Linked DNA regions of Homo sapiens: region 1 is linked to region 2. Evidence: promoter capture Hi-C in human tissues and cell types (Jung and others, 2019). All regions are on one chromosome and are shown on one strand. Each heading gives the region's core, a stretch centred on a gene start or on the middle of the fragment in contact. The rest is flanking DNA. Distances are from core to core; before and after follow the strand shown. Region 1 overlaps RNLS (renalase, FAD dependent amine oxidase). Region 2 holds the start of LIPM (lipase family member M).

What was found. The method cuts DNA at HindIII sites, captures the fragments that hold promoters and counts their contacts. A contact is called where the count stands out against the background at its distance.
Region 1: a contact is called between a fragment that was not itself captured here and the fragment with the promoter of LIPM in region 2, in 1 of the 25 tissues and cell types used here (lymphoblastoid cells).

Annotation. Positions count from the first base shown.
Region 1 is chr10:88,378,491-88,385,264 of GRCh38, forward strand. All of the region lies in intron 4 of RNLS (renalase, FAD dependent amine oxidase), which reads right to left. It overlaps LOC101929727 (a long non-coding RNA gene), which reads left to right. Exons shown (of 3, transcript XR_001747537.3): 3 at 1-1,631. Among named protein-coding and RNA genes, the nearest start is that of RNLS, 200 kb to the right of the region's middle. The HindIII fragment of the contact is 4,906 bases long and covers 1-3,711 here.
Region 2 is chr10:88,796,739-88,803,979 of GRCh38, forward strand. LIPM (lipase family member M) reads left to right here and starts at 5,992. Exons shown (of 9, transcript NM_001128215.1): 1 at 5,992-6,305. The coding sequence starts at 6,159. The HindIII fragment of the contact is 4,906 bases long and covers 1,769-6,674 here.

The DNA.
Region 1 (6,774 bases), core at 9-2,508, 420 kb before region 2:
CCCACCTCACCCCTGCCTTTCTGTATAAAAATTGGCCATAAAAAATTATCTCACCTACCTTGTTTGACTGTAGGTCATAAGACCCCCCATTCTAGAGAGGCTCCTGCCCCTTACCCAGAAGTAAGGAACGCTGCACAGAAAGGCCAGGAAGAATCTAAACAGACAGGCCTTACTGGGTTCTCCCACTCAGTCTATTAGCATTAGATCATACCCTTTTTGTCCAATCATATTTGCACATGCTATACATACTTTGTTGAACCAAAGTATAAAAATGGACTGTTTCCTTCATCTTTGTGTCTTCATTCTAAAGGCTCCCAAGTCATGTAAAATTATAATAAATTTGTATTTGCCTTTTTTATTAATCTGCTGTTTTGTCAGTTGATTTCCATCAAACCTTCAGAGGGTGAAGGAGAAGTTTTCCCTGGGTCCCTACAATAGTATAGATAAATACATAAACCAGTAACATAGTCATTTACTACCACTATAAAGTATTATGTACTGTATATATTTGTATGTGCTATACTTTTATATGACTGGCAAAGCAATAGGTTTATTTACAGCAGCATCACCACAAACATATGAGCAATGCATTTTGCTCTGGCATTATGATGGCTACAACATCACGAGGTCATAGGAATTTTTCAGCTCCATTACAATCTTATAGGACCACTAGTGTCATTAACTGGAATGTTGTTGTGTGGCACTTGACCATATATGTTTTAATGTTGAAGAGTGAATTAAATTAATAACAGGGAATTTCTTTGCTTTGGTTTACTTAAATGTGAAAATGGATTGCTATTTAAGCAGAGTGTACAAAATAAATACTTTTTTCACATTCTAGTAAAATGGCCAGTTTAATAATATTTTGAACAAAAAAAATTCCCCCCAGACCAAGGTGTTTTTTATTTAATAGGGAAAAATAGTGCTAAAATTTCAAATGATTTTTTTTTTCTTTCTTTTCTGTCACTCCTCTGGCTCTTTTTCCCAATGAATGAATGAACCTGGGAAGAATTATCAGTCTGATACGTGGTAAGTAAGTGGTTTCTAGGTATTTAATATGCCTTTTCCTGATAACTAATTTGCCAGATAGATTTTCCAAAAATGGTTGCAACAATATCTCCCATCCCTGATTCTCTTCTTAAATATGACTTTGACAACTTTTCTATCAAGAGGTAGGGTCTATATCCCCTTCCCTTGAAACTAAGAGGGTCTGTGGTTAAGGCAGAACTGACACTCAGTGACTTTTGAGCTAAGTCATAAAAGATGATACAACTTATGGCTGGTTCTGACTCAATCTTGGAACCCAGCCATCATGTTGTGAAGAATCTCAGGACATTTACAGAGGCTTCATAGGTTTCTGGCAGACAGCTCCAGCTTACAACAGCATCAACCAACAGACTTGTGAGTGAAGATGGCTCCTGAAGGTATCAGCCCCCCGCTGTCCAGTCACCTCCCAGCTTTTGAGTCTTTCCAGCCGAGACCCCAGACACCAAGGCACAGAGACAAACGTCTGCATTGTAACCTGTCCAAAATTCTGACCCACAGAGTTCTTGGCATAATATAATGATTGTTTTATGTCACTAAAGTTTGGAGTGGCTTGTCACATTGCAATAAAAAATTGCAACAACGAAGGAGGTTGATTATCTTTTCATGCTTATTGATCATTTGCATTTCTTCTGTGTACTGTCTATTCACAAATTTTGCCTGTTTGACTCTTGGGTTATTTGTCTTGCTCATATTTTCTGCATATTAATCCTACTTTTGTTACCTATATTGCAAATGTATTCAACCAGTTGCTTGCTAGGTAATAGAGAAATTTGAGTTTTATGTATCCGTTCATTGTTTTCATTTTTTAGTCTTGGGGTTTTGTATCTTTTTTTTTTTTTTTTTTTTTTTTTTTGAGACGACGGAGTCTCTCTCTGTCACCCAGGCTGGAGTGCAGTGGCGTGATCTCCGCTCACTGCAAGCTCTGCCTCCCGGGTTCATGCTGTTTTCCTGCCTCAGCCTCCCAAATAGCTGGGACCACAGGCGCCCGCCACCATGCCCAGCTAATTTTTTTTTTTTTTGTATTTTTTAGTAGAGACGGGGTTTCACTGTGTTAGCCAGGATGGTCTCGATCTCCTGACCTCGTGATCCGCCAGCCTCGGCCTCCCGAAGTGCTGGGATTACAGGCGTGAGCCACTGTGCCCGGCCGGTTTTGTGTCTTTTTTAGAAAAAGGCTTTCCCATTTGAAGAATATAAAAATATCCTATACTTTCTTCTAGCACTTTTATACCTTTTCTTATTCATCATAAGATCAGTCTCTGACTCTATCTTGAATTTATTATTTTACATGGTATGGGACAGTGAAAATCTAACTCTTTTTAGATGGATAGTCAGTTGTCTCTGTACCATTTATTTAAATCATCCATTCTTTTTCCATTGATTTGAAATGCCTCCTTTATGAACTAAATTCTTAAATAAATATATGTCTATTTCTAGACTGTCTATTCTGAACCATTAAACTGTTTGATCATTACTACAAAAGTGCCATTTTATTTTAATTTATATAGCTTTTTGATATGTTCTGATATCCAGTAGAACGCATAGTATAGTCTAATTTTTCTTCCCCCAGAAATATCTTTGCAGATTTTAAGAATTTCGTCTTTCAGATAAATTTCAGAATAAACTCGCCAAGTGCCTTGCTTGGCACTTAAGTCACAGCCTTGCTTTGACTTAATAAATTAATGTGTAGCAAACTGACATATTTATTATGTCTTCTTGTATATTAACATGGTATATTTCCCCATATATCCAGGTCATTTTGTAGATCCTTTAGCAAAGTTTTAGAAGTTTTCTTCATCTACTCACGTACAATTATTTTAGGCTTATTCCTAGGTAGTCTGTTGTTTTCGTTATTCTTGTGGATAGTTTTTTAAAAATACAATATTTTCAAATTGGCCATTGCTGAAGTATAGTAAAACTACTGAATTATGTATATATTTGTATGTGTATTTATATATATATACATATTAAAAGTATTTTTTGTTTTTTATATTCAGCTTTTAAAAAATTCTTTTATTAGTGATAATAGGCTTTCAGTTGATTCTCCTTGAATTTTCCCTCTAATTGTAGATGACCGTCCCTTTGAATTATAGATTACACTAGGTTTCTGTGATTAAACAAATATTAAGATGATATATCAAACAGAGACAGTTTTAAAGTACAAATTATATATCACTTAAAAGTTTCTAAATTTTAGAAAAATATTTATCAATGTTTTCTGAAATCTACTTTATACTTAGTTACCTAGAACAGGGGTTGGTAAACTACCATCCATGGGCCAAATCTGACCCCTGTCTGGTTTTTTTATATCCCCCCAGCTGATATAATGGTCTTTAAATTTTTAAGTGATTGAAAAATACAAAAATAACAATTTTTTGGTACATACAAATTATATGAAGTTCAAATTTCAGTATCCATAAATAAAGTTTTATTGGAACCAGCCATGCTCTTTCTTTCATATATATATCTATTATCTATGATCACTTTCCCACTACGATGGCAGAGTAGAGTAGTTGTGACATATTGACTGTATATGTTGCTTTTATTGCTTTGCAGTGCTGCTGGGTACACTACAAATCATACTGACATAGTTATCATTTGATTGTGTTTTACATGCCACGTTGTACTGTGACATCTTATTTTTTAAACTGCCATTTCATACCTATCATCTCAAAACAGTAAAAGAAGAGAAAAGTGGACTTCAAATGACAGGTACAGTGGAGTGTAGATGACTGTTATCAAATTAGATGGCAAAGCATTGTGTCTATTGTGCATGACACTTTGGCTATGCTAAAAAAATACAATATATACAGGCATTTCTAGGTTAAACACTCATCACATTATTCTCAACTCACCAGTAACCAATAGTCATAGAAATAAAAAATTAAATTGAATATATCATCACAGTAGAATTTTTTCACAAAAATAAAAAGTGCAAATAACACTGCATCAAAAATAATTTTCTGAGTAGCTCATTTGTTTCCCAAGCAAGGAAAGCTATTTACTGAGGATGAATAAATTAAATTGTGTTTGATTATAGCAGTTGAATAAATTATCCAGATAGAACAAACCTGTTTAAGACTATTAGCTTTTTGGTGAGAACAGTTGCTTGAATAGTTGAGAATACTGGAAGCAATGGCAATTGTTGATTAAAAGACAAGGCAAGTAATTTTGAGTGGTTTTCCTTGCATCTTGATGAGTTGACAGATATAGCTGATACCACTCAGTTATTATTTATTTGAGGAGTCAATTCTGAGTCTACAGTGATTAAAGAATTAGCCTAATGAATAGCCTGCATTGTAAAACTATAGGTGACAACATTTCCAAAAAAACTGAGAGAACACAAATTCTGCACAACCTGAAGGGGAATCTTCTAAGATGTGTTCCAATAGACGGTGGTAAAATATTTATTTTAAAGCAGAAAAAGGGTTTAATTGTACAAATTCATATAGCTTTTCAAAATGTAAGGCATCTTAAACCTATAGTGACTCATATTATTCATCAGCGGTGCTTTGTGGAACATCTTTAAATCTATCATGTGTAATTGAAACAGTAGTGTCAATGGTGATATTCATTTACTTTTGCGGACTTAACCATCATTAGTCCTGTAAAGTTTTGTTAGAATAGAATCTGAATATTCTACTTCTCTATCACATGGCAGAAACAATTGCTAAGTAGTAGTAACATTTCATTATGATTTGTTTGAGCTCAGGGCCAAGATTGAAATTTTTATGAATGAGATGCACCACTATCACCTATAATTGAATACTGAATAGTTTTGGAAATGAGCTTTCCTACAGACTGTTAATGTTTCTTTAAAAATTCAACCTAAAATTGTTAGGCAAAACAGCACTTACAAGTGAAATTTATACTGTGGTAAAGTCATTTCAGTGACAACTAATGTTGTTTGAATCACATGTAATGTCAAACTGCTTTCTACATTTCCTGTGCTGTCAAAAGTTAAAACAAGAAGCAAGACCTCCATTTCCACACAAACGTGCAGCAGATATATCTTTTGAGTTCAAACTACAATTCCAGCAGTGGATTTTTTTGGACTTTGATGCAAGTGCAAATGAAATTTCCTTATTTCAAAATCCATTTAACTGTGCAATTGAGGAGCTTCCACCTACCCTTCAATTGGAAGTAATTAATATAATGACATGCTAAAAGGCAAATACCAAGAGAAGAATCTAATAGAATTCTTTAAGTGCTTTTTAAGTAATGATTGTGCTAAATTAAAATCATATGTTCATCAACAGATATTAGTATTTGACAGTATCTATTTGTGTGAAAAGATATTTTCAAAGACAAAATATGTAAAACCTCATTATGAATCAGCATTAACAGATGGGCATGGGCAATTGATTCTGATGATAGGAAGCACTAACTTTGAACCCCAATTAAGTGAAATGTTATCACTCTCCCACAATAAAAGAATTCAATTTTTCTCATCAGTAGACCTATATTATAGAAAATTATACTTAACTATTATTATCAAATTTTCCATTTTTGTCAATAAAGATTTATAGAAATTTGTTTTCTATCTTGTCATGTAATTGCCCACATAATATCCTTGATTTTGACTCTTGGCCTAAAAAGTCTAACATATTTACTTTTTGGGTCTTAACAGAAAAATGTTGCCAATCCCTGACATAGACTATTCTCTTATGTCCTTTATTGTCAAAGGTGTCTACTAAAGATAATTCTCAAAATAATTGTATAAGTTCATGTTTGTTGAGTGCTTACTATGTGCAAAGCTGTTTAAGTTCAGAGACTTTCTCAAGGTCAAACACTGGTAAATGAATTAACCATTATTTAGATGGTTAACAATGATATAGATAGTACTGTAGTTATAATTCCCATTTTACACATGAAAAAACTTAGGCTCAGAGAGGCTAAGTAATTCCTCAAAGCCACACAACCTAGGCTTTGCAGCCAGGAAGATGAGATTAAATCATGCTTAATTCCCTTACCAGTGTATGACCTTGGGAAAGGCTGTGAACTTCAATTTCTCTACACTATAAATTGAAAATTATAGTACTGACTATATCATAGGGTTGATTTCAATATTAGATTAATTACTATATAGAAAGCACTTAGAACAACTATAGCTCTAGTGTGGAGTAGTCAGAAATGGCCTGGAAGTTCATTTTTAGTAAAGAGATTAATAAAATAGTTTATTATGTACCAGGAGTTGATGGAGAACAGTTCCCAATTCAGCTGTCAATTTGAGCTTTTCGCTTATGAAATCTATGCTATTGAGTTGACGTTTGTTAAGGAAAAGAACCTAATGTCTGATAAACAGGCAAAAATTAACTATTACATTTAAATGTGACTATTGCAGATGTACTAAGTAGTTGAGAAAGCCAGTTGGGGTCATACTCACTTAGGCTTACACCTAGCTTTGCCTCCTTGTTAGCTGTGTGACCTTGGTCAAATCACTTAACCTTTCTGAGCTGAGGTACCCTCCTCTATAAAATGTGGATTTTAAGTAGGCTATTATAGAGGATGATGTGAGGATTTTAAAAGACCATGCATCAAAAGTACCTAAGATGAAGCCTGATTTAAGAATGAGCTCAGCAAATGCTAGCTCATTTCCTTGGATTAGCCTTTCTACACTGACCCAAGGCTTGCAAGGCAAAGCAAAACTAAATAAAAGCAAAATGAAGTTAAAAAGCCCAAACAAATAAAAACCAATTTGTTAATTGGGTGTTGGTGGATAAAAAGACT
Region 2 (7,241 bases), core at 4,742-7,241:
ACAAATTCCTTTAAGAAGGAAAAGAAAAGGGGAAAGGCATTACAATTCTTTAAGCCCCTGCTATATGCTTGTTCCATGTGGCGTAGATTTACGCATTGATCCTCACAGCACCTTATTTTCACGTTAGATTAACTGAGGCTCGGAGAGGTTAAGTGGCCTGACCAAGATCATTGGCTCAGAAAGGGAAGGAGCCAGGATTCACACTTGAATCAGTCTGGGGGAAATATTATTGCTGCTCTACAGCAGATGTTTTGTAGTTTCATGAGTTGATGGAGAAACTCTGGTTTATCTTATAAACTTCAAGGCAGAACAGCAAGAGGCCATGGTGGAGAAGCAACTGTCCAGTAGCATAACCATTACAACCTGCAGGAAGTAAAATTGCTGAGGTGTGATGGATGCTTATTCTGCACCAGGTCCTGCATTCATACCACACTTAACTCTCACAGCAACCTTAAGAGGGAGGTACCATACTGTTACCATTTTGCAAATGAGGATGCAGGCTCAGCAAAGGTAGAAAAGTTGCCCAAAGTCACATATATAGAAAGTAGTGGAGCTATTGGTCTGACTCCTCATCCTATGTTAATTACTGGATACACAGACTAGGGTAGAAATTATTGGCTACTAGCTGGACTTTGAAAAAAGAACCTTAAAACTGTAAGATGGTAGGTCTTTAAGCAATTCGTAGGCTAATGCCCAGAGTCAGAGATAAGGTTGTTTGCTTACTTTGATATGGAATGGTTTGTAATATTTCAACACTGGAGTATAGTATATGAAGAACAATTACATGTTGATTGATGTAGCTAAGATACCAATTAGAGTCTAAGAGCACATGCAGGCATGTCTGACAAACTGGGAGGGCAAGTAATCCAAACACTCTGAAGACCATTTGCCTGAAGACCTCGGGGTATCTTATGAGATAACTCATATTAAGAGAAGGAGTGGAACATAAGCTTGACTCAGTACAACAGTTTTGGTCATTATTATAGACTGGTTCTCACAAAAGCATTGACTCTGACTTTCAGATTGCTTCCATAGCACAGCCCCACACTAAACGGTGTAGTTTTCAAAACCTGAAAGAATAGTTTTAATAAAACTCAGTAACTCAGTCCAACACTGGGGTAGAACAGCACTATCTTGAAAGCCCTCTAACCTGTAACTCAAACAGAAAACATTCTGCCGCCAGTTTCTTTGCTAAAACATAGCAAGAGTCCAGTTTCCAACAAGTTCCTCATCTCCATCTGAGACCACCTCAGCCTGGATTTCATTGTCCATATCACTATTAGCCTTTTGATCAAAGCCATTCAACAAGTCTCTAGGAAGTTCCAAAATTTCCCACATTTTCCTGTCTTCTGAGCCCTCCAAACTATTCCAACCCCTGCCTGTTACCCGGTTCCAAAGTTGCTTCCACATTTTCAGGTATCTTTTCAGCAGCGCCCCACTCTACTGGTGCCAATTTACTGTATTAGTCCATTTTCACGCTGCTGATAAACACATACCCAAGAATGGGCAATTTACAAAAGACAGAGGTTTACTGGACTTAGAGCTCCCCGTGGCTTGGGAGGCCTCAAAGGCTGTCTTGAATGGCGGCAGACAAGAGAAAAGAGCTTACGCACGGAAACTTCCGTTTTTAAAACCATCAGATCTCATGAGACTTACTCACTATCACGAGAACAGCAGAGGAAAGACCTGCTCCCATGATTCAGTTACCTCCCACCAGGTTCGTCCAATGACACGTGGGAATTGTGGGAGCTACAATGCAAGATGAGATTTGGGTGAGGACACAGCCAAACCATATCAAAGCCCAACGGCTCTGCAGAAGAAATGCAAGAGGACCATGCGTCCCTTGAAAAATTATGAAATTTAGCATGGAGATGCAAATGTACATATTTCTGAGGAGACAGTCTTGTTTTTGTCAGCATCTCAAAACATTATGTAACTTAAAAATGTTTAGAAACAATTGTTGGAATTTTGATTTTTATGTATTCTAAAGCCAAATAAATGTGAGGAAAAGTATATTTCAGTGCATACATATTACCGGGGATACTCACAAACTGTGGGCATAAATTGGGTCACATTAATAGTACATTCTGATTCTTGAATCCTCACTTGAACCAGGATTTGTAGAAGCTCTAATTTTTTTTTTTTACTATTTCATTAATTTTTGAGAGGAATTATTTCTCATGTCCAAATAGAGTTAATCCTTGAGAGTTTGACCTCATATTCAAAAGATGAAGGTAAATGTTATGGTTTTACACCTCATGGTTCAAATGAAATGTAGAAGGGACTTACTTACTAAGCCAATTTGAGGTGCGCTTTACTGGGTACCGTGTATAAAGGGTGGAAGTTTCTGAGGCTGATTTTGACACGTACTCTTTGCTCCCACCTCTTTCCTTCAGGTTAGGGAATGTTTTTGTTTTTACAGCTTCAAGCCTTTTTTTTTTCCTTATTCTTGTGTTATTGTTTTTATTTTGTACCATTTTATTGGTTTGGTTGGTTTTTTAGCTGTTTTGGTTTTTACAGTTTTTACACATGGTATATGAATGTGTAGGGCCACAGGTTGATTTTCATTCACTTTTTTATTAGAAAGCTTTTTCTTAATGTTTATTCTACTTGACCTGTTGCTTTTCTGTATTTTAATATTAATTTATAGATAGTGTACATTAAGGGAGATCAATTTTCTTCATTTTAAGAAATCCAGATACTTCAGATCCTACTTCTTTATGTACTCAGATGACAAAAATCCATTTTCTAAGGTCACAGAGTTCCTGAATAGAAGCGTCTAAAGAGAAATCTCTCAAGATCAGCACCTTGAAGTGGGCAGACACACTGGCACACTTGGACTCCCATCTCTCTCTCTCTCTTTTTTTTTTTTTTTCTGAGATAGAGTTTCACTCTTGTTGCCCAGGCTGGAGTGTAGTGGCAGGACCTTGGCTCATTGCAACCTCCGCCTTCTGGTTTCAAGCGATTCTCCTGCCTCAGCCTCCCAAATAGCTGGGATTACAGGCGACCTCCACCACTCCTGGCTAATTTTTGTATTTTTAGTAGAGACAGGGTTTCACCATGTTGGCCAGGCTGGTCTCAAACTCCTGACCTCATGATCCACCTGCCTCAGCCTCCCAAAGTGCTGGGATTACAGGTGTGAGCCACCACGCCCGGCCCCCTCCCATCTCTTTTATCATGTTTCTGATGCTCTCCATGGGCTGGGGATTGCTAAGGTGGTAAGGGTGTTGTAAAATTCTGCAGTGGGGAAGAACTGCACTTATTTAATATTTGCTCAAAATGTCGCTCTTTGAGCTGACTTGGGAAGTGACTTTGCCTGCTTCCAAAATGACAGTTATGACCTTATAAAGTTCCCCAGGAATTTGAGAGCCAAATTTAATTATATTTTCTCTGCAATGTACTCAGTACCCAAGGCTGCAGCTGCAGAAAGCTAAAAAATAAAAGGAATAAAATAAAAAGGAATGGGTGGGGGATTGAACCAATCAGTTTATTGCCATAAACTCTCTCCTAAAAAAGTCTCTACAGTATTCACAAGCATATTAATCTAATGCGGGAGTTGATCTTACCTGAACATATTACAGCAAAGTAATATGGTATCTGACAGATGGTATTTGACAGATGGTATCTGTCAAACTCATAATGACATCATTGGGAATTATTCTGAATTTTAAATCCAGAAGATAACTTTTTAAAAAGACAGTTCACAGAGATTGATGTAATTGCTTCCTGTTAGTAGGTTAGGCTTCATCTTTGATGGAGAAGAGGACATCGAAGTGTTATATATTTTCCCATGTAGTCATAATGCTAAACAGCAAATTAAAATATCTGAATCTCAGTTCTGGCCTTGCCACAGTCTAGCTAGGCAATGTGGGGCAAGTCATTTAATGTGTCTTCACATTTCTGAAAATGAAAGCTGAATGATATCTTTTTTTCTGGCTATATAACATTTACAAATCCTAAAATGTCAGTGATGGGAGCCCATATTCTTTTCTGAAATCTCATCTTGCCTACCTTGAGGGAGAACTCATGGGGTGCTGAAGACACAGGGCTCTGCAGAGTGTTGGATAAGTGTTTTCTCTGCTCTTCTAATTAGGTCAAATGGCTCCTCTAGCTGGCATCAGATTAGCTGTGTTAGTGACATTCACACTGGTCCAGATAAGGATGCAGACTTACCTCTTCACACCCATGCAACCAGCCCAAAGTGGAGGAGGCTGAGTCATGTGGGAAGATATGTTCTGACAGACTTATCTTTCTGGTTTCAGCATCTGGCTCCTTCACCCACCACATTCCAAAAGTCTGCATATTGGTGTGGCTGCTGTTAGCTCAACCCTGAAGAATTGATGTAATAGAGAAATATTTCACTTTAAGTAATATTTTTTTAACTTTTAACACATTCTTTACTTAAAACGACAAATAAATCAACCCTCCTGACCTGCTCAATCATTAGTATGCTAAGGGATTGTTCACATTTGCCTCACATTCAGTTGAACTGAGACATTTAGTTCATGAAAATAACTAGGCTGCAACCCATTATTTTAAACAATAGCTTTGTAGATTCTGGATATTATCCCTTAAACAACCCCATCAAAAAGTGGGCGAAGGATATGAACAGACACTTCTCAAAAGAAGACACTTATGCAGCCAACAGACACATGAAAAAATGCTCATCATCACTGGCCATCAGAGAAATGCAAATCAAAACCACAATGAGATATCATCTCACACCAGTTAGAATGGGGATCATTAAAAAGTCAGGAAACAACAGGTGCTGGAGAGGATGTGGAGAAATAGGAACACTTACACTGTTGGTGGGACTGTAAACTAGTTCAACCATTGTGGAAGACAGTGTGGCGATTCCTCAGGGATCTAGAACTAGAAATACCATTTGACCCAGCCATCCCATTACTGGGTATATACCCAAAGGAATATAAATCGTGCTGCTATAAAGACACATGCACATGTATGTTTATTGCAGCACTGTTCACAATAGCAAAGACTTGGAACCAACTCAAGTGTCCAACAATGATAGACTGGATTAAGAAAATGTGGCACCTATACACCATGGAATACTATGCAGCCATAAAAAAGGAAGCATTCATGTCCTTTGTAGGGACATGGATGAAGCTGGAAACCATCATTCTCAGCAGACTATCACAAGGACAAAAAGCCAAACACTGCATGTTCTCACTCATAGGTGGGAATTGAACAATGAGAACACTTGGACACAGGAAGGGGAATATCACACACCGGGGTCTGTCGTGGGGTGGGGGAAGTGGGGAGGGATAGCATTAGGAGATATACCTAATGTAAATGACAAGTTAATGGGTGCAGCACACCAACATGGCACTTATATACTTACATAACAAACCTGCACGTTGTGCACATGTACCCTAGAACTTAAAATATAATAAATATATATAAAAAACTAAAATACACAATAGCTGATGATTTATTTACTAGATAATCCATCTAGTCATATCCCAGTGATTAACTAGTGATTACAACTTAAAATAAAAATTTTGTGTATATCTATTTAATTGAACTAGACGAAATGGGCTAAACATGGAAGATTCATTTTCTTCTAATCAATGTTCTCACCCATCCCTAAAAGTAGAAAATGTCCATAAAATTTTAGATATTTTAAATAAAAGCACTTATCACAACACTTATCTTTAACCAAAAAACAGTGATCATTGAAGACCCAGAATATGACTATAGAAACTTTCAGTGCTTTCTGTAGACTCCATCTTTTGCTATCTATCAAAGAAAGATAAAATCTAGGAGTGGAAGGAAAGAGGTTCCCTACACTCCTTATTACCTGGTGATAAAGTACAGGGGTTTTAATAGGCTGTATCAAATGCACAAAATTCCAGGTCACATCAAAGAAAGTTCTACACACCTGGAAGTTGAAGGATTAGGGATTACAAGTTGTGTGAGGGAGGAATGGGAGGAGTCAGATAGTATTGGGACATCCTAGGCAATGTTTCCAGCCTACTTTGTGTTCTTTCCCTACCAACTAAGCTTGCCTAATTTGCTTCAGAATTGGAAGAGGGAATTGCAGCAGGAAAATATGTGAAGAGTTTTTAAACCCACAAATTCTTCTTACTTTAGAATTAGTTGTTACATTGGCAGGAAAAAATAAATGCAGATGTTGGACCATGTTGGAAACCTTGTCAAGACAGTGGATTGTCTCACACAGAATGGAAATGTGGCTTCTGATTCTGGTGGCGTATATGTTCCAGAGAAATGTGAATTCAGTACATATGCCAACTAAAGCTGTGGACCCAGAAGCATTCATGAATATTGTAAGTTGGGATTTCTGGGAAATGAGGTACTTAACATGTTAACGTTTGTATCTGTGTATTATTTACATTATGTATTATATTTATACATGGTGGTGATTCATACTAGAAGAGCATAGTGATGAAGTAGCAAATTGTACTGGAAAGAATGCTAAACTGGATGTCAGTAGACCTGGGGTCTCCTCACACAAATTTAGTAAACTTGGGCAAATGACTTAATCTCTTTGAGCTTCAAACACAATTTAACTTTTCCTTGAACACTTTGGTTCATCCTATGAGTGGAGAAGTAATTAAGGCCTTTTAAGTTCACCCCAGTCCCTTGATTATTTCCATTTTGTCTGTACCTTTTATTCTTTTATTCTTTTTTTCCATATTGCAAAGGTGTCAGCCTTTGCTTCTTGCTATCAGGGCACACACTTCTAGTAGCATCTTATACCATTCTAATCTACTCTTTTTATCCTGTTTCTGGACTGGTACTTTGCTGAATAGCAATAAAAGGACCCCGAGTTAGTGCTACACAGAACCTCCTACAAGTAAAATGCATAAATGACAGTACATCTCTTTAGTTTTCCCAGGAGGTTTTTTTTTTTTTTTTTTTTGGTAGCTTTTCAAATTCTAAGCTGGGTTTTAGTAATGGTCACCCTATGGTAACACTTATCCCATAGCAGGGATTATGACACAAGCAGAGATACTATTCTATTTCAATTTCATTGCCCTGTGCAGTAGATAGGATCATTCACATATTTCAAATCTAGATACTGAGATTAAAGAGGTTAAACAAGTTGAACAAGGCCATACCAATGTAATAGCATAGCTACTATTTAAATTCAGGACTGCCTAAACACAAAGTCTATAATTATAAATACTACGCAATAAACCCTCCCAGGTGAGAAAGAGGAGAGGCTACCTCCAGATGAGTAAGACGATCATGTGCAATGT